Regions from separate parts of the Homo sapiens genome. Here region 1 is linked to region 2. The links are contacts of gene promoters, found by promoter capture Hi-C in blood cells and fetal thymus (Javierre and others, 2016). All regions are on one chromosome and are shown on one strand. Each heading gives the region's core, a stretch centred on a gene start or on the middle of the fragment in contact. The rest is flanking DNA. Distances are from core to core; before and after follow the strand shown. Region 1 holds the start of BTBD10 (BTB domain containing 10). Region 2 holds the start of RPL27A (ribosomal protein L27a).

What was found. The method cuts DNA at HindIII sites, captures the fragments that hold promoters and counts their contacts. A CHiCAGO score of 5 or more calls a contact.
Region 1: a contact is called between a fragment that was not itself captured here and the fragment with the promoter of RPL27A in region 2, in 1 of 17 cell types (fetal thymus). The highest score is 5.8, in fetal thymus.

Annotation. Positions count from the first base shown.
Region 1 is chr11:13,463,206-13,469,240 of GRCh38, forward strand. BTBD10 (BTB domain containing 10) reads right to left here and starts at 17. Exons shown (of 9, transcript NM_032320.7): 1 at 1-17. RefSeq lists an enhancer at 197-386. The HindIII fragment of the contact is 1,174 bases long and covers 664-1,837 here.
Region 2 is chr11:8,678,797-8,684,041 of GRCh38, forward strand. It overlaps RPL27A (ribosomal protein L27a), which reads left to right and starts at 3,996. Exons shown (of 5, transcript NM_000990.5): 1 at 3,996-4,020; 2 at 4,406-4,469; 3 at 5,210-5,245. The coding sequence starts at 4,018. TRIM66 (tripartite motif containing 66) reads right to left here and starts at 3,869. Exons shown (of 25, transcript NM_001388022.1): 1 at 3,805-3,869; 2 at 1,105-1,267; 3 at 824-1,018. RefSeq lists enhancers at 3,426-4,625, 3,489-3,558, 3,759-3,948, 4,275-4,917 and a silencer at 4,069-4,268. The HindIII fragment of the contact is 2,972 bases long and covers 1,418-4,389 here.

The DNA.
Region 1 (6,035 bases), core at 1-2,500, 4.8 Mb after region 2:
GCCACTGAGGCGGCTGCGCGTAGCGGAGCCGCCCCGGCAGGTTGCAGGCCGGCTCCTCAGCCTCTTACCGCGAGAGCTCACAATGCGAAGAGGCGAGGCCAGCAGCGTTCTCGCGAGAACGGTGCTCTCCGCCCAGGGGTGGGCGGGGCACCGAAGGAGAAGGCAGTTGAGGGCGCGGCGGCCACGGGTGGGATCTCAGGCGCGTGGAGAGGAAGGCGCCGCGCGACCTCTCCTCACAGACATCAGCTCGGGTCAACCGCGGGCCTCGAGCCCGAGTGGCTGAGGGCTGTTACCTTCAAACCTTTGAATCCCACGTTTTCCCCTTGACTTCCTGTCACCGTTAGAGAAAAGTGGACAGCGTCTCGGTCACAGAGTTGGAGAAATAGTGCAGGGACTCTTCAGGGAGAGCGTTTTCCTCATCAAAGCAAACTGCAAAATCGCTTCTGCCGGCGTGGACCTGATGAGAGTCGGTCGTCGTGAGGGACACCCTCTGTTCCCTAACGTCCCCCGCTGCTTATTTTTAAACGCTCGGTTGGCGGGAACCCCTGTGCCAGCTGAAACTCCTTCAGTTTGGCCGCCTAGGAAACACCGAGAGTCACCTACATGGGCTGGCTGGGCAATAAAAACGGGAAAAAATGTAAAAGACACAGTCTCCGCCTTCGAAGCTTACACCCCCGGGGCAAGACCTACAGGAAAATAGATAATCCCATTATTCTCTGATAAAAGCCGAGCTGCTTGCCATGAGCTCTGGGAGCAGACGGGGAGGCCTTGTTGAGAAAGCCTTCACCTGGGAGTGACAATTGCGCTGAATCTTAAGCATAAGTAAGTTCTCCAGTTTAGGGAAGAGAGGGAAGGGCATTGCAAGGAGAGGAAGCAAAGAGGAAGAGGACCTGGTTTGAGTAATTGGGTATGAAAACAGATATTGCAGCAAGAACTTTGTTGAAAAACCTTTAACCACTGTTTAGTTCGGATGAGAACATTCCCAGGCTCCTACGTGTGATACGCAAAGTATTTTCCAAATCAGTGTTTATGCTAAGAAGATGAGCAGTTGAGCTGGACAATTATAAGATAACTTCATCTTTCTCCTGTAAGGACACTTAAATATCAGAAACCTAAGAGAAACGGGTTATTGTCGTAATTCACTAAGTTATTATAGCCAACATTTTGCTAAATTGGAAATTGCCAATAATTTCAAGTTGTCTACATAAGAGCAATCTAATAGGAATTTTGTGATACAGTTTCTCAGAGAAACTCTGAGAAAATTCTCAGGCAAAAAACAAAAACGTCATCAGTCCTGATTTATTATCAAAATTTTCTCCTATAAGCTCTGCTCAGAAGAAGTCATTCTGTAGTCCAAGTTAGGGCTAATGAGGAGCCATACTCTTACATCAAAATAGAAGCTGTCCTTTTCTAAAGAAAGACTCTGGTATTTTGCTGTAGTTTCCACTCACCTTCCTTTGGACACATTATTTTCATATTACATATAAAAATATGTATACTATATGAAAAATACTATGTATACTATAGTTTTATTTGGCTTACCATACTCTCCCTACGAATAAGCCCAACACTTAGGAGGAAAACAAAAAAGTTATTCTAACCCTGCTGATACGGTTTGGATCTATGTCCCCACCTGACCTCTCATGTGGAATTGTAATCCCCAGTGTTGGAGGTCGTTGGATCATGGGGGCAGATTTCCCTGTTTTTGCCATTCTGGTGATAGTGAGTTCTGGTGAAATCTGTTCTTTAAAAGTGTGTGGCGCCCCCCCACCCCCGCCCCACTCCTCCCACCATATAAGACGTGCCTGCTGTACCTTGGCTTTCTGCCATGATTGTAAGCTTCCTGAGGCCTCCCCAGAAGCCCAGCAGAAGCCGTCGGACTTCCTGTACAGCCTGCGGAGCCGTGAGCCAGTTAAACCTCTTTGTTTTATAGCAGTGCAAGAATGGACTAATGCACCTGCCATAGGCCAATTGGGTGTTCTGTTAAGCATAATTTCACATCAAGTTCTTGGAATTTTCCAGGAAGCATTAGAAGAATCATATGAATGAAAGACTTCAGGCAAAATATGGAAACTTTGTTCCATGCTGGAATCTGTTCAAACCATCATATCCTACTTGGATGGGTCCTGGAGCTCATTTCATTCTGCTGTTCTTCAAAAACAAAAGAGAATGGGAGTTGGGAGAAAATAGAAAATCGAATAAAGTTTCTACTGTTCTTTGCTTTAAAAGAAAATTAATCGGCCGGGTTCGGAGGCTCGCGCCTGTAATCCCAGCATTTTGAAAGGTCGAGGCGGGCAGATCACGGGGTCAGGAGATCCAGACCATCCTGGCTAACATGGTGAAACCCCGTCTCTACTAAAAATACAGAAAATTACCCGGGGGTGGTGGCAGGCGCTTGTGGTCCCAGCTACTTGGGAGGCTGAGGCAGGAGAATGGTGTGAATCCGGGAAGCGGAGCTTGCAGTGAGCAGAGCTTGTGCCACTGCACTCCAGCCTGGGCGACAGAGCGAGACTCCGTTTCAAAAAAAAAAAAAGAGATAATTAACCTTTCAAATATTAAGGTAGTAGCACAGTAGCACTGGTAACAGTTATACATTTGGTAGGTAATGCCATAGATTTAGATAATCACAAATCTGCTCTACACGATAATTTGTAAATGCTAGCTGACTGCATAGGCTAAGGTTCAGAACTTTAATGAAAGTCTTTCTTCCACACACCAAAGAGGTCCATACAGAAAGAGAAGTTTCATATAGTAGCAGTGAACAAACAAGGTCGTTTGGTAGTTTGTGTTATAGCATGCTAAGGCAATATTGTTTCAAAGCAGATAAGACCACAGACCCAGAATCCTATTTAATTTTTAAAACCTGGAATTTCTTTGTACTACTAAGTTTGAGCACTGCCATCTAATGGCAGGAACAGGAAAATCACATACACGCAAAAATAACTCGATCCCTATTCAGCAAATACATTTATTAATCAAGCCCCTGTGTAAGAATACCAGAAGAGCTGGGCACTGTGGCACGTGCCTATAATCTCAGCACTTTGGGAGGCGGGAGGATCACTTGACAGGAGTTCGAGACTAGCCTGGGCAACATAGCAAGACTTCTCTACAAAACTGAAAAAAATAAAAATACTAAGAGATACAGATAGTATTATACATATTCTGACAAAATGAGATGTATAATTAAATAACAAAAGGAAAACAAGTTAGGTCAAAGATAGAAATAGTGTGTTATGGGAGGACAGAGATGAAGATTACTCTTTTTTTTTTTTCTTTTTTGAGATGGAGTCTCGCTCTGTTGCCCGGGCTGGAGTGCAGTAGTGCAATCTTGGCTCACTGCAACCTCTGCCTCCCTGGTTCAAGCAATTCTCCTGCCTCAGCATCCCGAGTAGCTGGGATTACAGGCATGTGCCACCACGCCCGCCTAAATTTTTGTATTTTTAGTAGAGATGGGGGTTTCACTGTGCTGGCCAGGCTGGTCTCGAACTCCTGACCTCAGGTGATCCACCTGCCTTGGCCTCCCAAAGTGCCGGGATTACAGGCGTGAGCCACCGCACCCAGACATAAGATTACTTATTTTTATTTTTTCTTTTTCTTTTTTTTTTTTTTTAAGAACACCACCTTTAAGGAGAGCTAGCTTGTAAGCTCCTTTTTTCAGGGGCATGGGCCTTCTCATTATCACTTCAATGGGAGAGAGCTGATGTATTCCAAGCAGGGTAGAATTTAAGCTAAGCAAATGAAAGAGTCTTAGGCCAAGGAAGGTAAGACGTTTCTGTAAGCTTTGCCAATTGATTTTGTATTTTCCATTTGTGCATCCCACCAGTCTGGAAGACTGAGGGTAGTATACACAATGGAAATGCTAATTCATCTCATCTCAATCAGCTTTCACCACACAACATTTCTATAAACATTTTATAAACTCATAATTTTTTTCAATTTTCTTTCTTTCCTCAATTTTCTATATCCATTCAGTTTTATCGTTTTTTAAATCTCTTCAACTTAAAACAACCTTTAAAAACCTCTGGACAAAATTACTTTCTTTTTAACAAAAAAACATATTCTCATGCCTCCTTCATAATCCTTTCTACCAAAAATTCATCCTATTTTTCTTATACACTCTGTATACACAATTGTTTCTCTTATATCTAGTAATTTTAATTACATTTGTTAATTACAATTTTAACTCTTAGTAACCTTAATTTCTAGTGAAAAACCTAGAAAGTAATTTCAAACTGTTTTATATCAGTAGTTGTAGATAAATTTTTTAATTAACATATAAATATAATTAGTTTTTCTATACCACATAAAAACAAGATGCTAAAATATACAAACTTAAACTTATGTTTAGAGATTAATAGTTCAGTATTTTAACTTAGAAATAATATTTCAGTATTTTAACTTAGAAGTGACTCTGACATCTTATGCTTATCTATTAATTTAATACAGCATAACTTTAAAATAACACAGGAATTCTCTCTAATGTCTTCCCCAGTCATCCTGGGTCCCAAGTACCCACATGGCAACGAGGATGGCTGTAAAGGGTGGAGCTCATCTGGGTCCTGAATTTACATACCAGGTCTAGAGCTTAGGAGAGAGGGCAGAGCTATGAAGAGGATGCCTGGAGGGTCCGACCCTACCCAACATAACCAGGAGGCATAGCTTGGCCAGGGAGGATACGTTGGGTTTGCCCTACACCTGACAGCCTAGACACTGTGGACATATGTATGTCTTCAGGCTTCACCAGGGCCACTTGTCTAGATCCCAGAATCTAAAGGCTCAAACCAAAGATATAAGCTCACAGTAAGATGTGTTCAAGGCTTCAGGGAAGCCCAACAGCCAGCCCTCAGAGCTTTGGCTCCAAGACAAATCAAACATCAAAAATATCACAGAAATGGCCAGGCATAGCATGGCCATTATAAGCTTATGCTTATATGACTTATGCTTATAATCCCAGCATTTTGGGAGGCAAAAGTGGAAGCATCACTTGAGTCCAGGTTTTGAGGCCAGCCTAGGCAAAATAGGGATACCCTGTCTCTACAAAAAATTTAAAAATTAGCCAGGCATGGTGACACACACCTGTAGTTCTAGCTACTTGGGTGGCTGAGGCAGGAGGATTGCTTGAGCACAGGAGTTCAAGGCTGTAGTGAGCTATGATTGTGCCACTGCACTCCAGCCCAGGCAACAGAGTAGGACCCTGTCTCAAAAAAAAAAAGAAAGAAAGAAAAGAAAAAAAATTCACAGAAGCAACAGTTTTTTTGTATGTGTCTTTTTTTTTTTTTTTTTTTATAGAGACAAAGTTTCACTATGTTGCCCAGGCTGTTATCAAACTTCCTGGCTCAAGCCATCCTCCTGCCTTGACCTCCCAAAGTGCTGAGATTATAGGTGCTAACCACAGTGTTTGGTCACCAAACTCTGTTACCTTAAGACATCTAGTGGAAACAGTATAAATATGTCTCACCAAGAGACCTAGGTGAAAATGTCTGAATTATATTTAATACAATTCTGAAGAAATTCTAATTTTATTTTACCAACATTTTAAAAACTAGTTTTAATTACCAGTGATTACTAAAGTCACGTGAACTTCAAAAGCATTTGGGCTTATTTGCTTAATAAGTGCTCATTTATTCATAAATCAATTTGGCACCATGTAGACAATATACAAACATAGGCATGTACCCATTGAGGAGAGCAAAATCACGTGGTGATCATTGAACAGGCCCCGGAGACAAAAACTCCTTATCTGAGGAATTTAGAAGGGAGCAAAGACCACCTGGTGACTATCAAGCAGGCCATCCGGAGGCAAAACTCCTTATCTAGGGAAAATCAGAAGTAATTAAACTTCCCTGGTAGCTAAAGTCGGCATGTGGTTCCAGGTCTCTTTCAACTTTTATAAGTAACTAAAATTCCTATATATCTCTGGAATGCCATGTGGAAACTCATTTTACAACCCTACGCTCCTGCCTTATGGTCCATAAATTCTCCATACGCTCCCGCCTTAAGGTCCACAAATTCTCCAGTGAAAAATCCACCACAGC
Region 2 (5,245 bases), core at 2,746-5,245:
TGTCGAATTCAGGAACCCAGTGAGGAGAGAAAGGAAGAGGGATCACCAGGGCCTTCTTCAGGGTGATGATGTGTTCCCAAGGCCACCTGGAGAGAGGCCTGGGGCAGCAAAAAATCAGCACACTTGCCTGCCTCACCAGGCTGCTGTCTGGTATCATCTCTTCCGTTCATTTCTGAGGTATTTTCTGAGGCCCTCACACTCTGAGGAAGCCCAGATGCCTGAGATGTCACAAAGCCATGCTGTACTTCAGAAGAGATGTCACAGAGAAGGACACCCCTCAGGAGTCATGGCCAAAGGTCATGTCCCATGTGCCTAGCTGGGAGGGACAGGTCCCCTAATGCCAAATATCTGGCTGCTACTCCACTTTGCAGACAGAAAACTCAGCTTTGTCTGCTCTCTCAGACCTCTGTCAACCTAGGAAAAGTGACACACACTGAACAAACACCACATGAGCTGTGTGTTTAAGTCATGTGGTTGCCTTTTGAAGGAGAGGGAGCTGGATAGAAAACTGGATTGAGCCAGACAACTACCCAGGGTACTCCCTCTACAACCAGATCAAGCCATTGATGAGAAGAATGTTAGGTGAACACAGAACCCAACGGGTAGTGCTGGGTCCACTCTGGGAGGCCTTCTGTTCAGCCGCGTGACCTGAGGGACAGAACGTAGCTCCTCTATAACCAAGGAACCTGGCAAACTATCCAAGAGGAGTGTCTTAGCACCCAGAACCCTACCTCAACCCCTTGCAGTGGTGGTCCTTATTGTAGGCCCCAGCTCTAATACCACTGATGGTTCCCTTTCATTCCCAAGGCCCTGCCCAGCTTACCTCCATTGACAGATCATCTTCCCAAGGTTAGGTTCCAGGTAACCCAGCTCATTTCTTGTGCACTTACTGGCCAGTTTTGATGTCAAATAGACGACGATGTCTTCTTTGATCTCCCCTCCTATTCTCAAGACCCCTCTTCCTGCTGGTCACATGCAGTATGTGATTAAGGTTGATGGAGGGATGAAGACCATAATGCTGTAAGGTCAGAGAGGGACTGGTCACTGAGGTAAAAGCAGGGGATCTGGAGAGAGAAGACTAAAGGCTAGGCCCAGGCTCTGTACCTGACCACCTATGCAGCGTCTGACAAGTCACCCAATTCTTCTGTGCTTCAGTTTTCACACACGTAAAATGAGGCTGGTAGTGCTGTACCTTCAGGCAGATGTATTTTGTAAATTGCCAAGTGCTCTGAAAATGTTGGTTGTTATCCTTGTGGACTGAAGTGTTCTGGGAAGAAGCAGAATATAAAGTTGGCCTTAAAGGTTGAGGAAGATTCAGGACATGTGGTCAGGAAGAGGATGGGCACTCCGGGATGGGAAACAGCATGAGCAAAGGCAAAAATGCAAATGGGATATACCAGGCACGGCTGCAGTAGAAAGCTTGTGTAAGGGAGAGGCTGGGGTAAGGCTGGAAAGGCAAGTGGGCTATATTCTGTTGGTCATAAGGAGCTACCGAACTTTTTGATCAAGTAAAAGAATGAAAGTCATGTTTTCGGAATACTAACGTGGTGGAGGTGTGAAGGATACAGAAATTGGAGGAGGGTTAGAATGCAGGCAGAGTGAACAAAGGAAGGTGTTGTAAACTCCAGTTAAGAGATATGATGGGGGCCTGAATGAAGGCAGGGCACTAAGGCTTAAACAGAGGAAGCACATTGGGGAGATACAGAAACAAAAGGATAGGGTGACAGTGTAGTAGAAGAAGAGAAGGCTTGGGGACAATTTTCATTATCTAGGTGGACAATGGTGCCACTCACCAAGACAGAGAATAAAGGAGAAGGCACCAGTGAGCAGTGCAGATTGAGTTCTTTGGATATGTTTACTTTGTCTGTAGAATGTCCAAGGAATACTAACCAGTAATTAAGTGACCATATGGGTGTGGAGCTCAGCAATAAGGATGTGAATTGAAGCCACCCAAGAAGACCATGTACTGTGAAAAGATAAGGACAAGGACAGAAGGCTGAGGAACATCAACATTCAAATGGTGGACAACGCTGGATGGAAGAACCTGAAAAGAAGACTGAAAAGTGACCAAAGAGTAGGAGGAAGGCAAGACTTTTTCTAGAAAAAGACGCCAACAGATTAAAGTACAACAGAAAGAACAAGTGATATGAAGAATAGGAAGAGTCCAATTTGGCAATTCGTTCATTAATGACATTAGTAAGAGCAATTTCACTGAAGTCACAGGCTGTGAGCTAGACCGCAGTGAACAATGGATGGGAAGGTGCAAATGGGCAGGATTTGTAGACTACTCTTTTGGGGAGCTTGGCTGTAAGGGCAAGGACATGGGAGAATTTTGGAATTTTTTTTTTTTTTTTTGAGACGGAGTCTCGTTCTGTCGCCCAGGCTGCAGTGCAGTGGCGCGATCTCGGTTCACTACAAGCTCCGCCTCCCGGGTTCACGCCATTCTCCTGCCTCAGCCTCCCGAGTAGCTGGGACTACAGGCGCCCACCACCACGCCCATCTAATTTTTTGTATTTTTAGTAGAGACGGGGTTTCACCGTGTTAGCCAGGATGGTCTCGATCTCCTGACCTCGTGATCCGCCCGCCTCGGCCTTCCAAAGTGCTGGGATTACAGAAGTAAGCCACCACGCCCGGCCAGAATTTTGGATATTTTAGCTAAAATATATTTTAGCTGAAGGGGGCAAGACAAAGAAAAATAAATAAATACACGCTCACACATACACACAGAGAATAACTGAGGGGATGGGATTTTAAAAATTTATTTCATTTTTCCCATGGGATCTATTAATAGACTAGCGAGGGGATGGGATCTTGAACACTGGTTGAAGGAACCGACTTAAGAGCGAAGACATGCTGCTATTAGCGAAGACAGGGAGGTGAGGGTAAGTTCATTTATTCACTCAACAATCACTAGTTGAGTGTGGATTAAAAAAAACAGTCCTTGACCACATAAGGAATTAGGTCTAGTAGGGAAGACAAACGTAGGTCAATAAATTACATAAGGGTTATACTAGATTGTGTGGTGGTACAGGTGGGGAAGCGAGCAACTGTCTGCATTGTGTCCAGGAAAGGGTCACAGGCGTGTTATGTAGATTCTGGAGAAAATTCAAAAATAGCATTTATTTTTACTTATTTACTTTTGTATGTGGAGACGAGGGTCTCACTATGTTGCCCAGGCTGGTGTTGAACTACTCGCCTCAAGAAATCCTCCCGCCTCGACCTCCCAAAGTGTTGGGACTACAGGTGTGAGCCACCGCGCCTGGCCTAAATGTGGCATTTAGAAAAAGTATTTACAACATCTGCATTAAAAGGACCATAAAGCAACCAGGCATCTAAGTCCCTGAAGCAATTTAAGTTGCTCAAACTTGAGAGGACAACCAAATGATAGCAAAAGGGCAAAAGAGAAAGGAAGCTGCAGTGCCCACTCAGAAGTGTGAGAGCGGGAGAAGGCATTTCGGGAGCCGCCCGAGCTTCAGGAAACCGAGCGAGACACCAGGTGGGCACACTGAGGATTAAAGAGGGCCTCGCGGTTCCGCACTGCGGCCGGGAGACAAACCAGTAGCCACTATCACCAGCCCCGGGCAGACCACTAAGAACTGTGGAGGTGCGCGGGGCGGCTCAGGGCTGGCGCATTTGGTGAGGAGCTCAGACAACGAGGCCCTTAGGGTCGGCTTAGGCGGTTCCCTGACCAAGGCGCCAGAAAAGGGCCTGGCTCAAGCAAGCACGGGCGGCGTGCAGTACAGCACACCTAGCCCCGATTCTTCAACAGTTCTCGCCCTCCGAGCCTAGCACAACGAGCCTCACCGAAACCGTACACCGCCACCAGGACACTCCGTGATGGGGGATCACCACCCTCAGAAAGAGGAAGCGACTAGCAGGCGCGCAATCCCGCGAGACCAGGAGGCCCCGCCCGAAGCCCGGCCTCTGTGACCGGAAGTGAGGCGTTTTGCCCCGCCCCCGTGGCCGATACCTCGCGAGACTTGGCGAAGGCCTTCCTTTTTCGTCTGGGCTGCCAACATGGTAGGTGTTTCGTTTCTTGCCTCCTCTTCCTTGCCGGCGGAGACCCCTAAGCTGTATTCCCATTGCCCCTAGTCATCCACTCCCTACCATGGTCGGGGCTTCCAGGCTGCGCATGGCCGCCTGCGGGGCAGGGTGGCCGGCGCGGGCCCGGGGCGGGGCTCCCGGAGCCGTGTGTTAGGCCCGCGGTTCGGATCTCTAGGACACGCGGGCCCCTGCGCTACCGTGGTGAGACCTCACGGCCCTGAGCGGATCGGTACCCTCAGCTTTCCCAAACGCTCCAGAAGTTAGGTCTTTGACCCACAGGCTTACAGGACCATCTCGGCTGGCGGGCATCGCCCCCTGCCCCTAATTCCTTAGGCCTTACCACCAAGCTTTTTCCACACAGCCATCCAGACTGAGGAAGACCCGGAAACTTAGGGGCCACGTGAGCCACGGCCACGGCCGCATAGGTAAGTGCCGGCTTCCCCTCGGGGTGGGCCTTGGGCTCTCTTCGGGTGCTTAGCTAGTCTGGAGATCGGTAGCCTATAAGTGGGTTAGAATAAGACCTTTTTGTGGTCAAGTTGCACAGCTGTTGATTTTTTTCTGACGATCCTCTAGTATTCCAGTTCTAAGGAATTTCACATCAGTGGGGTAATAGGAATTGAGCAGGCACGGTATTGGGTTAGTTGAAGACATGGAGTACTGTGGGAATGCTGTGATGTGGAACCTGAAAAGATGTTTCACCCGGAATCCTAAAGTAATCGCATTGCTGAAAACCGGCATCGGTAGGGTGGGAACAGCGTAAGCGGGACACAGAAGTCTGGGAAACACTCTGCTTTTGTGCGAGGAAGTATTGAGATGCATGAGAAGGCTGTGTGGTGCATGTAGCTTTTTTGTGTGTGTGTGAGACTGATCACTGTCGCCCAGGCTGGAGTGCAGTGGCGAAATCTCGGCTCACTGCAACCCCTGCCTGCCGGGCTCAAGCGATTCTCCTGCCTCAGCCTCCCGAGTAGCTGATATTACAGGTGTGCGCCACGACGCCCGGCTAATTCTTTTTCTATTTTTAGTAGAGTCGGGGGTTTCTCCGTGTTGGCCAGGCTGGTCTCGAACTCCTGACCTCAGGTGATCTACCCCCCCTCGTCCTCCTAAAATGCTGGGATTACAGGCATGAGCCATCACACCGGCCCCACGTAGCTTTGTATTCCTGCAGGCAAGCACCGGAAGCACCCCGGCGGCCGCGGTAATG